Regions from separate parts of the Homo sapiens genome. Here region 1 is linked to region 2. The links are contacts of gene promoters, found by promoter capture Hi-C in human tissues and cell types (Jung and others, 2019). All regions are on one chromosome and are shown on one strand. The core of a region is centred on a gene start or on the middle of the fragment in contact, and the rest is flanking DNA. Distances in the headings are between cores, read along the strand shown.

Region 1 (4,542 bases), core at 494-2,993, 360 kb before region 2:
CTTAGCCACCCAAAGCACTGGAATTACAGGTGTGAGCCATCACACGCAGCCCCACAGTTTTTGATTCTGTAGTTTCGTAGTAACTTTTGAAATAAATCAGGAACTGTGAGTCCTCTAACTTTCTTCTTCTTTTCAAGATTGTTTTGGCTCCCTTCAGATTCCATATGGATTTTAGAATGGGTTTTTCTATTTCTGCAAATAACATCGTTTGGATTTTGATAGGAATTGCATTTAATCTATGGATCACTTTGGGTAGTACTGTCTTCTTAACAAGATTAAGTCTCCAAATTCTTGAACGTGGGATATCTTCCTTCTTATTTACATGTTCTTTCATTCCTCTCAGCAGTGTTTTATACTGCAAGTCTTTTGCCTCCTTGGTTAAATTTATTCCTAAGCATTTTATTCTCTTAGATGCTATTATAAATGAAATGGTTTTCTTAATTTTGTTTTCAGATCATTGCTAACTTATTAGCACCATAAGGTTTTTTTTTCCTGCAAAATCTTTGGTTTTCTACATATAAGATCATGTCATCTTAAATAGAGATAATTTTATTTCTTCCCTTCCCATTTGGATGCATTTCTTTTTTCTGCTGAACTGCTCTGGACAGAAGTTCCAGTACTATGTTGAACAAAAGTGGCAACAGCAGATACCTTTATCTTGTTCCTGATCTTAGGGGAAAAAGGAACTCCTACTTTTGAATTTCATTTATTTCTTAATTTTTATTTTATGCTTCATATTATATCCTTTCTTTCCTCTTATGGAAAGAATTCTAAATATGATCTTCCAACTCACTAATTTCTCCTTCACCTTAACTGATCCTAATTTCATCCCATCAAATGTGTTCTATAGATTATACTTCTTATACCTAGTATTTTCCTTTGGTCCTATTAAGTAAGTTTTTGTTCTTGTTTCATGTTGTTAATATCTTTTAGAAAATTTATTAGACTTTTCTTTTTATTCCATCTGCCTTTGCTTCTACTATATACACAAAGATATTAACAACATAAAACAAGAAAACACACACATACACACAGTTTGTTATCTTTTACTTGCCTTTTGAGGTGCTTGCGCTCATTTGTCTCCTTATTTTGGACATATTTATTTGGGAACATGAGTTACTTTCTCTAGATTATGTGTAACAAGAGAAAGGCCTGACTCTAGTCTGTATCAGCAACATTTAGCACTGAGAAACCCCTGGGGGAATAGAAGAATTCTAGGGAGGAGAGCCCTAACAAGAGAAAATCACAGTTAATCACTTTCCATTATACAAACAACTCCCTCAGGTTAATAATTCATTCTTTGTCCACAGATGAAAGTAGCATTGGGAAGGAGGCATTTTCTATAATAATAATTCACTGCTCTCTAAGAGTTTGGTGGAGGAAGGGTAGGAAATTTAGGTAAGGGAATTTTAAGGATAAGGATTTTTAGAGGTGAGAAACTTTTTAGGCAGTGCTATTATGATTTATTCTTGAAGACACTTCCACCCACTGTCTGAGTTATTGCTATCACACCCCTTAAAAGAGATACTAATTATCAAGACAAATTTGGAACAGGGGGTAAGACCTCCATCCAAACTGCCTTTTACCTCAATTATCCTTCCACAGCCACAGGAGCAGCCCCCTAAACCAGACTGCAGCCACCATTACCACACACACACTCCAGTATCAACACTCCTTACCTGGGACTAATTTTTCTGTCTTAAGTTTTATGATCATTCATGGGTTAATCTTAGGACACTAGAAGCCCTTATTACTTCATTATCTTGTCCCAAACAGGGCAAGAATTCTCATTAAAAATTTATGATTGGGAGTGATCTTAACTTCCTTCAGGGATGAATTTCTTTTAAAATTAAAGATCTGTTTCAAATACTATTCCTAATTTGATTTATTCAACAATTTTTTTTAAGAGATGGGGGTCTCACCATGTTGCCCAGGCCAGAATTCAGTGGCTATTCACAGGTGTGAAGACTGCACTACAGCCTCAAACTCGTGGCCTTAAGCAATCCTCCCACCTCAGCCTCCTGAGTAGCTGGAACTACAGGCACTCTATCACTGAAGTTGGTTTATTGAACAAACATTAATAGAGCGCTTACTATGTGCCAGGCACTGTTCTAAGCAACTAAACAGGAAAACAAAACAGGTAAGCCCCTGCCTTCAAGAAGCTCATATTCAATTAAAGAAAAAAACAGCCAGGCATGGTGGCTCATGCCTACAATCCCAGCACTTTGGGAAGCCAAGGCAGGAGGATCACTTAAGACCAGGCGTTCCGAGACTGGCCTGGATAACATAGCAAGACCCTATCTCTACAAAAAATTTTTAAAAAAAATTTTTTTAGAAGAATCTTATATCCTAGCAAGGGAAGAAAATATTATGCTAGCGAGTGATAAAGGTTATACAGAACAAGGTAACTATGGGAAATGGTGTTTACATGGGGCCCATTTAATAAGGGAGATTTGAAAAAAGACTGAGTGACATAACTATGTAATTACCTAGAGAAAACAAATCCCAGGCAGAAATTACAACAAATGCAAAATTCCCAACTGTGTATGTGCGTTTAAATAATAAAACAAACCAACTGAATATTTCAACATATTTGTTCTAGCAACACAATGGAAAAGGAGGAGAAAGTCATTATTGGAAATGAAAAAGAAAACTACTGGTTTTAAACAATGCTTGTAACAACAACAAAGTACTGCTAACAGTTTGACTGACTGACTGATTTTGAGATGGGGTCTCGCTCTGTTACCCAGGTTACAGTGCAGCGGCATGCATGGCTCACCACAGCCTTGACCTCCAGGTCTTAAGGAATCCTTTCGGCTCAGTCTCCCAAGTTGCTGGGACTACAGGTGTGCACCATGATGCCTGGCTAATTTTCGTGTGTGTGGTTTTTTTTTTGTTTTGTTTTGTTTTGTTTTTACAGGGTTTTGCCATGTTGCCCAGTCTGGTCTTGACTGCCTCAGCCTCCCAAAGTGCTGGGTTATAGGCGTGGTCACACTGAGCCCAGCTAACAAATTTAACTGTGCTAAAATTTGCTAATGGCAATCACTACACTACAAGTATTTTTATTCTACACTACAAAATATTTCTACACTACAGCAGAAAGCCACACAAGTCTTCTGCTGAATTCATCTATCTGGTACCAAACTTATATGTTTCCATTACTTTCATTCTAAGGCATAGCTCTAGAATCAATTTCATATTCCATCAACATTCTATATTTGCTTCAAGACAAAAGGGAAGCATTGCTTTAAAAATAACTCTCCTCCTTATTCTGCCAAAGCATCATTTGCTAGACTATTGAAATACAACAGTTGTGTTCTAAGGTGAGAAAGAATGGGCTTCTGCCAGCTAGACAGCTGCGTCCTCAGAACAAAAACCTTTTCAAGGTTATACATTGACTCCTCCTTAACAGATGCTAGTTCTAAGACAACCAATAGTGAACACAAGACATTTATAGGTTCCTGAAGTAAACGATACATGATTTTATTTTTTCAGACAGGACAACTCTGTTGTCCAGGCTGGAGTGCAGTGGTGGGATCTTGGCTCACTGCAGCCTCAACCTCCTGGGCTCAAGCAATCCTCCCACCTTGGCCTCCCAAGTAGCTGGGACCACAGGTGTGCACCATCATAGCTGGCTAGTATTTTACTTTTTCTGTAGAGACAGAGTTCTCATAATGTTACCCAGACTGGTCTCAAACTCCTGGGCTCAAGCAATCCTCCCACCTCAGCCTCCCAAAGTGCTGGGATTATAAGCGTGAGCCATCACACCTGGGCAACAATGCACAATCTATTTTAGGTTGGTACAAAAGTAATTGCGGTTTTCGCCATTAAAAACTATTGCAAAAACCATAATTACTTTTTTTTTTTTTTTTTTTTTGAGATGGAGTTTCGCTCTTGTTGCCTGGGCTGGAGTGCAGTGGCGTGGTCTCAGCTCACTGCAACCTCCACCTCCCCAGGTTCAAGCAATTATCTTGCCTCAGCCTCCCAAGTAGCTGGGATTACAGGTGCCTGCTACTACGCCCGGCTAATTTTGTATTTTTAATAGAGATGGGGTTTCACCACGTTGGCTAGGCTGGTCTCCAGCTCCTGACCTCAGGTGATCTGCCCACCTTGGCCTCCCAAAGTGCTGGGATTACAGGCATGAGCCACCATGCCTGGCCCATAATTACTTTTGCACCAACCTCATAACAAAATTCTGATATCCCAAAAAAGAATTTCTCAGAACATCTTACTTTTAGAGATAGCATGTAATTTTTAAAAAACTTCATTGAGTCTAGCCTTCCTGAGAAAAAACTATACCATTTCATGAAAATAAGTCACAGATAACAAGTAAATGCAGTAACTGTAGTATGCTGGTTTCAGGAAGATTTCTGATTCTAACCCAGAAATAAAATGTTATCATTGATAAGATGGAAAGCATGGTCATGATAATACTTATTCTGGGTGAGTGAATACCTGACTCAATCAAAATTGGAGAAATAATTATCAACCTGCTAGTATCAACCTTAGAAATGGTGTTCTAAATCAATTGGTTCTGTCCCA
Region 2 (4,512 bases), core at 971-3,470:
GTACTTGGCACCCACGCCCAGTGCCCAGGTCCCTGCCAGGCAAGCTGGGGCCAGCAGGGCGTGCACGGCAGTGGTACTGCTTTCCAGGTACACCACTTCCCTGGCCAAGGCGAACTTCTGGGCTTCACGGGACAAGGTCAGGGAAGCTCTCAGCCGGGCGCCTGCTGGGCTCCGCCAGTCCACTGTATGCCCATGTATGACCACGGGATGGTTAGTGTTGATCACTAGGTCTCCCAAGAAACTGGCAGGGATGCCCACCACAGCCCCAGCAGGGAGTCTTGGGAAGCCTGCACTCACAGGTTGGAAGGTGAAGGTGGTGAAGGGCTTGTAGCAATGGCCTGAAGGAACACCTATGTCCTGTAGCACCTCTTGGAAGAGGCTCTGCAGCTGTGGAGGGAGCGGAGCTGGCTGGCCCTGAGGCCAGTACTGGTAGAGCCATTGGACCACGGGATCCGGGAAGAGGTGGTACGAGATTGGAACTCCAAACAGGCCTGCACAGGAACCCACCAAGAGGCCTGTCCTGTGTCTCTGCACAAATGCTGCGGTCCGCCACAGGGGACCTGCCATGAGTGTAGTCACTGCGGACAATCTGGGCCAAGAAAAAGAGAAGTCAGCCAGTTTCCCTGGGTCAGCCTGCAGACTGAACATCCTCCAGGGTCCACACCACCTTTTTAAACCAAAGTAACACAGCATAGTGGTGAAGAGTGTGGGCTCTAGAGCCAGAGTGCCTGTGTTCAAATCCCAGCTCCGTCTCTGTGCGTCAATTTCCCCATGTGCCAAACAGGTGTGTCGTAATGGCCCACCTCTAGGGTGGCGGTGATGAGCACATGAATAAACATACATAAAACATTTAGTGTCTGGCACAGCAGCAGATATTCCTTATAATAATGGCTGTAATGACTTTTATTCCCATCGCTGGGCACGGCACTCCAACTGCCTCATTCCACTCATCCCATGGTAAAGCCCTATGATTACTAATTTATAAGGAAAAACGTGTTCAATTTATTGAGTGCTTACTATATGCTAGACTCAGTTCTGAGCACTCTTACCGATTGAACCCTCACAACCCCATGACCTAATTACTACAGCTAACCCTATTTCAAAGCTGTGAAAACTTAAATGGCCAAAATCCTAAGCTAGTGAAGTGACAGTGTTATGGGCTGCACTGTGTCTCCTCCTCCTCCCCAGTTCATATATTTAAGTCCTAACCCCCAGTACCTCAGACTGTGGCTGTATTTGGAGACAGGGTCTTTAAGGAGATAATTAAGATAAAATGAGGCCATCAGTATGGATCCTAATCCAATTTGACTGGTGTACTTATAAGAAGAGATTAGGATGCAAACAGGCACAGCAGGAAGATCATGTGAGGATCCAGGGAAAAGGCTACCACCTACAAGCCAAGAAGGGAGGTCTCAGAAGACACCAACCCTGTTAACACCCTGGTCTTGAACTTCCAGCCTCCATAACTCCCAGAGGACAAATTTCTGCTGGTTGGGCCACCCAGTCTCCGGTACTTCGGCATGGCAGCTCTAGCAAGCTAACACAGGCATAGTCAGGTGTCCACAGCAAACTTTTTGTTTTAGAAAACTTGTTATGCCAAATTACAAGCATATACCAAAGTAGACAAAATAGTACATCCATCAACTTCAATCCCATCAACTCATGGCCAATCTTGTTTGATTTCTCTTTCCACCACACTTCCGTCCAACTGGTTTATTTTGAAACATCCCCGGGCATCCTATCACTTCATCCGTGAATACGTCAGTAAAAATTCACAATTATTTCACTTTGATTGAAACTTACTGTATTCCTGTCCGTGAAAAGTGCTTAATGAGCAACGAATGAGTTGCCGCAAACAAAAACGCAGGGTACCGCTTGGCCTATCTTAATCAAGAACTCCTATAAGAATCATTATCATTCGGGCTTTTTTTTTTTCCCAATGCGGAAAGTGAGGCTAAGAAAGGAAAGGTCTGGACCAAAGTCCAACGTCCCTAGGGCCATCGCGCTGCGGGGTGGGCCTAGAACACAGTACCATGCAGCCCGCCGGTGGCTGGGGGAGGAGGGGCTGCAGGAGCCCCGCAGAGGGGTCCTCGCTACGCTTCCACTCTGGGCCCCTAGGCTACTCCGCAGTCTGAACGCGTTACCGGGTCGCATCAGGCCGGAGAAGGGTCCCTCCCGCTCGTCCGTGCGCTCACCTCCGCCGCCGCTCGGAACGCCTACATGTGCGCGCGGCAGGGCGGCCGCAAAGCACGCCGGCCGGGGATCTGGGGGCGGGGACTTCGGGAGGCGGAGCTCGCCGGCCCCGGATCTTGGGATGGGGACTTCAGGGGGCGGAGCTCGCCGGCCGGAGATCTCGGGGCGAGGATTTCAGGGAGGGGAGCTCGCTCGACGGGTCTGGGGGCGGGACTCTTGGGGGTGTGGCTGGGGGGGCCTCAAGGGGATGTCCGTGGGGGGCTCCGGCCGCCGCAGAGGCTCCTTCTCTAACTGTGCACCTTGGGGTGGGTCCGCTAGCACTTCCTCCTCTGCGTTGAAATGCGTCTTTGATTAATACAAAAATTAGCTGGGCGTGGTGGCGCACGCCTGTAGTCCCCAGCTGCTGGGGAGGCTGAGGCAGGAGAATCGCTTGAACCTGGGAGGCAGAGGTTGCAGTGAGCCGAGAATACGCCACTGCACTCCAACCTGGGCGACAGAGCGAGACTCCGTCACACACACACACACACACACACACCCCGGTGTCTTTGATCATGCCACACACACACACACACACACCCCGGTGTCTTTGATCATGCCACACACACACACACACACACACATACCCTGGTGTCTTTGATCATGACACACACACACACACACACCCACCCCGGTGTCTTTGATCATCACACACACACACACACACACACACACACATCCCGGTGTCTTTGATCATGCCGTTGAACCCCCGAAGGAACGGCAGCCCCGCGTGGGTCACCAGGCGGCCTATGGCAGGGCCCCCATCAGAACCCATGCCCATCTGACTGGCCGGCCCGTGTACTTCTCCGTCTGGAAGCGCTCACCCTTGGCGGGGAGCTCTGAGCTTTATGTTTATTACCATGTTCGCTGCCCCCCAAGCTCCTCCCAGGTGCTTCACACTGTACAGTCCACAGAGCAGCGTGCCATCTGTCATTTCTCCTTTCCAGCTGCTCTGTGAGGTAGATGAGGGATCATCTAATCTGTGCACCAAATCCAGCTCTCCACCTGCTTTTGTAAATAAAGTTTTCTTGGAACACAGCCATGCCCAATCCTTTACAGAGGGTGAAAACAGACTGCCTAGGGTTAAAGCCGGGCTCCACCCCTTACTAGCTGTGTGATAAAATGAGTTGGTGTATATGTAACCTGTGCCTCACGGTTTGTGCCGCCTAGCCATTAGCTATTATTATTAAAGTCTGTTCTGTTTCTGAGCCCCCCCCCCCAATTTTGGCTGCTCAGTTGTTTGTATGTAAATAGTGCAATGTGACCTCAGCCAAAGCCAGAATGTGGGACATTCTACAGGGCAAATGACGTGGTTTATCCAACAAATCAATGGCATAAACAGGGAAGGAGGGGGACTCAAAAGAAAAGAGACTTGAGAGTCATTGCAGTTAAATGCAATATGTGACTTTTATTGGGATCCTGAACCAAATAAACTAACTGTAAAAAAGACACCTTGGGCTGGGCGCGGTGGCTTACGCCTGTAATCCTGGCACTTTGGGAGGCCAAGGAGGGCAGATCACCTGAGGTCAGGAGTTCAAGACCAGCCTGGCCAACATGGTGAAACTCCGTCTCTACTAAAATACAAAAATTAGCCAGGCATGGTGGCACACGCCTATAATCCTAGCTATTCAGGAGGCTGAGACGGGAGAATCGCTAAAACCTGGGAGATGGTGGTTGCAGTAAGCCGAGATTGTGCCACTGCACTCCAGCCTGGGTGGCTAAGTGAGACTCTGTCTCAAACAAACAAAGGAACAAACAAACAAACAAAAGGCATCTTGGAGAAATTTGAATTTGGATTTGAATATTAGATGATATTAATGAATTATTGCTTATTTCATCAGATGGGATGATGACATGGAGTTTATATAAACCAAAAAATTCTTACTAGAGATGCATACTGAAGTGTTTACAGGTGAAATGACACAATGTCTACTATTTGATTCAAAATATTCCAACGAAACCAAATCCAAACAACAACAACAACAAAAAAACAGGGGCACAGATGAAACAACATTGACAAAGTGTTAGTTATTGTGAAGCTGCATGACAGGTTCAGGGATCTTCATCATACCATGCTCTACTTTTGTGTGTGTTTGGAAATTTCCATAATAAAAAGTTTAAAAAAATTTTTTAAAGTAGGCTGGCCAGTTGGACTCCATCAAAATGAAAAACTTTTGTGCATGAAAAATACTATCAAGAAAAGTGGAAAGACAATCCACAATAGGAGAAAATATTTACAAATCATAGATCTGATAAGGGTGTAGTATCCAGAATATATAAAGA

Evidence for each region. Contacts are between HindIII fragments. The study calls those that stand out against the background at their distance.
Region 1: a fragment that was not itself captured here is called in contact with the fragment with the promoter of TMEM177 in region 2 in 2 of the 25 tissues and cell types used here (mesenchymal stem cells and stomach).

Annotation. Positions count from the first base shown.
Region 1 is chr2:120,033,044-120,037,585 of GRCh38, reverse strand. The region is part of intron 2 of EPB41L5 (erythrocyte membrane protein band 4.1 like 5); the gene reads right to left. Among named protein-coding and RNA genes, the nearest start is that of EPB41L5, 22 kb to the right of the region's middle. The HindIII fragment of the contact is 6,408 bases long and covers 1-4,542 here.
Region 2 is chr2:119,676,909-119,681,420 of GRCh38, reverse strand. TMEM177 (transmembrane protein 177) reads right to left here and starts at 2,220. Exons shown (of 2, transcript NM_030577.3): 1 at 2,145-2,220; 2 at 1-589. The coding sequence starts at 567. RefSeq lists a silencer at 2,144-2,373. The HindIII fragment of the contact is 8,254 bases long and covers 1-4,512 here.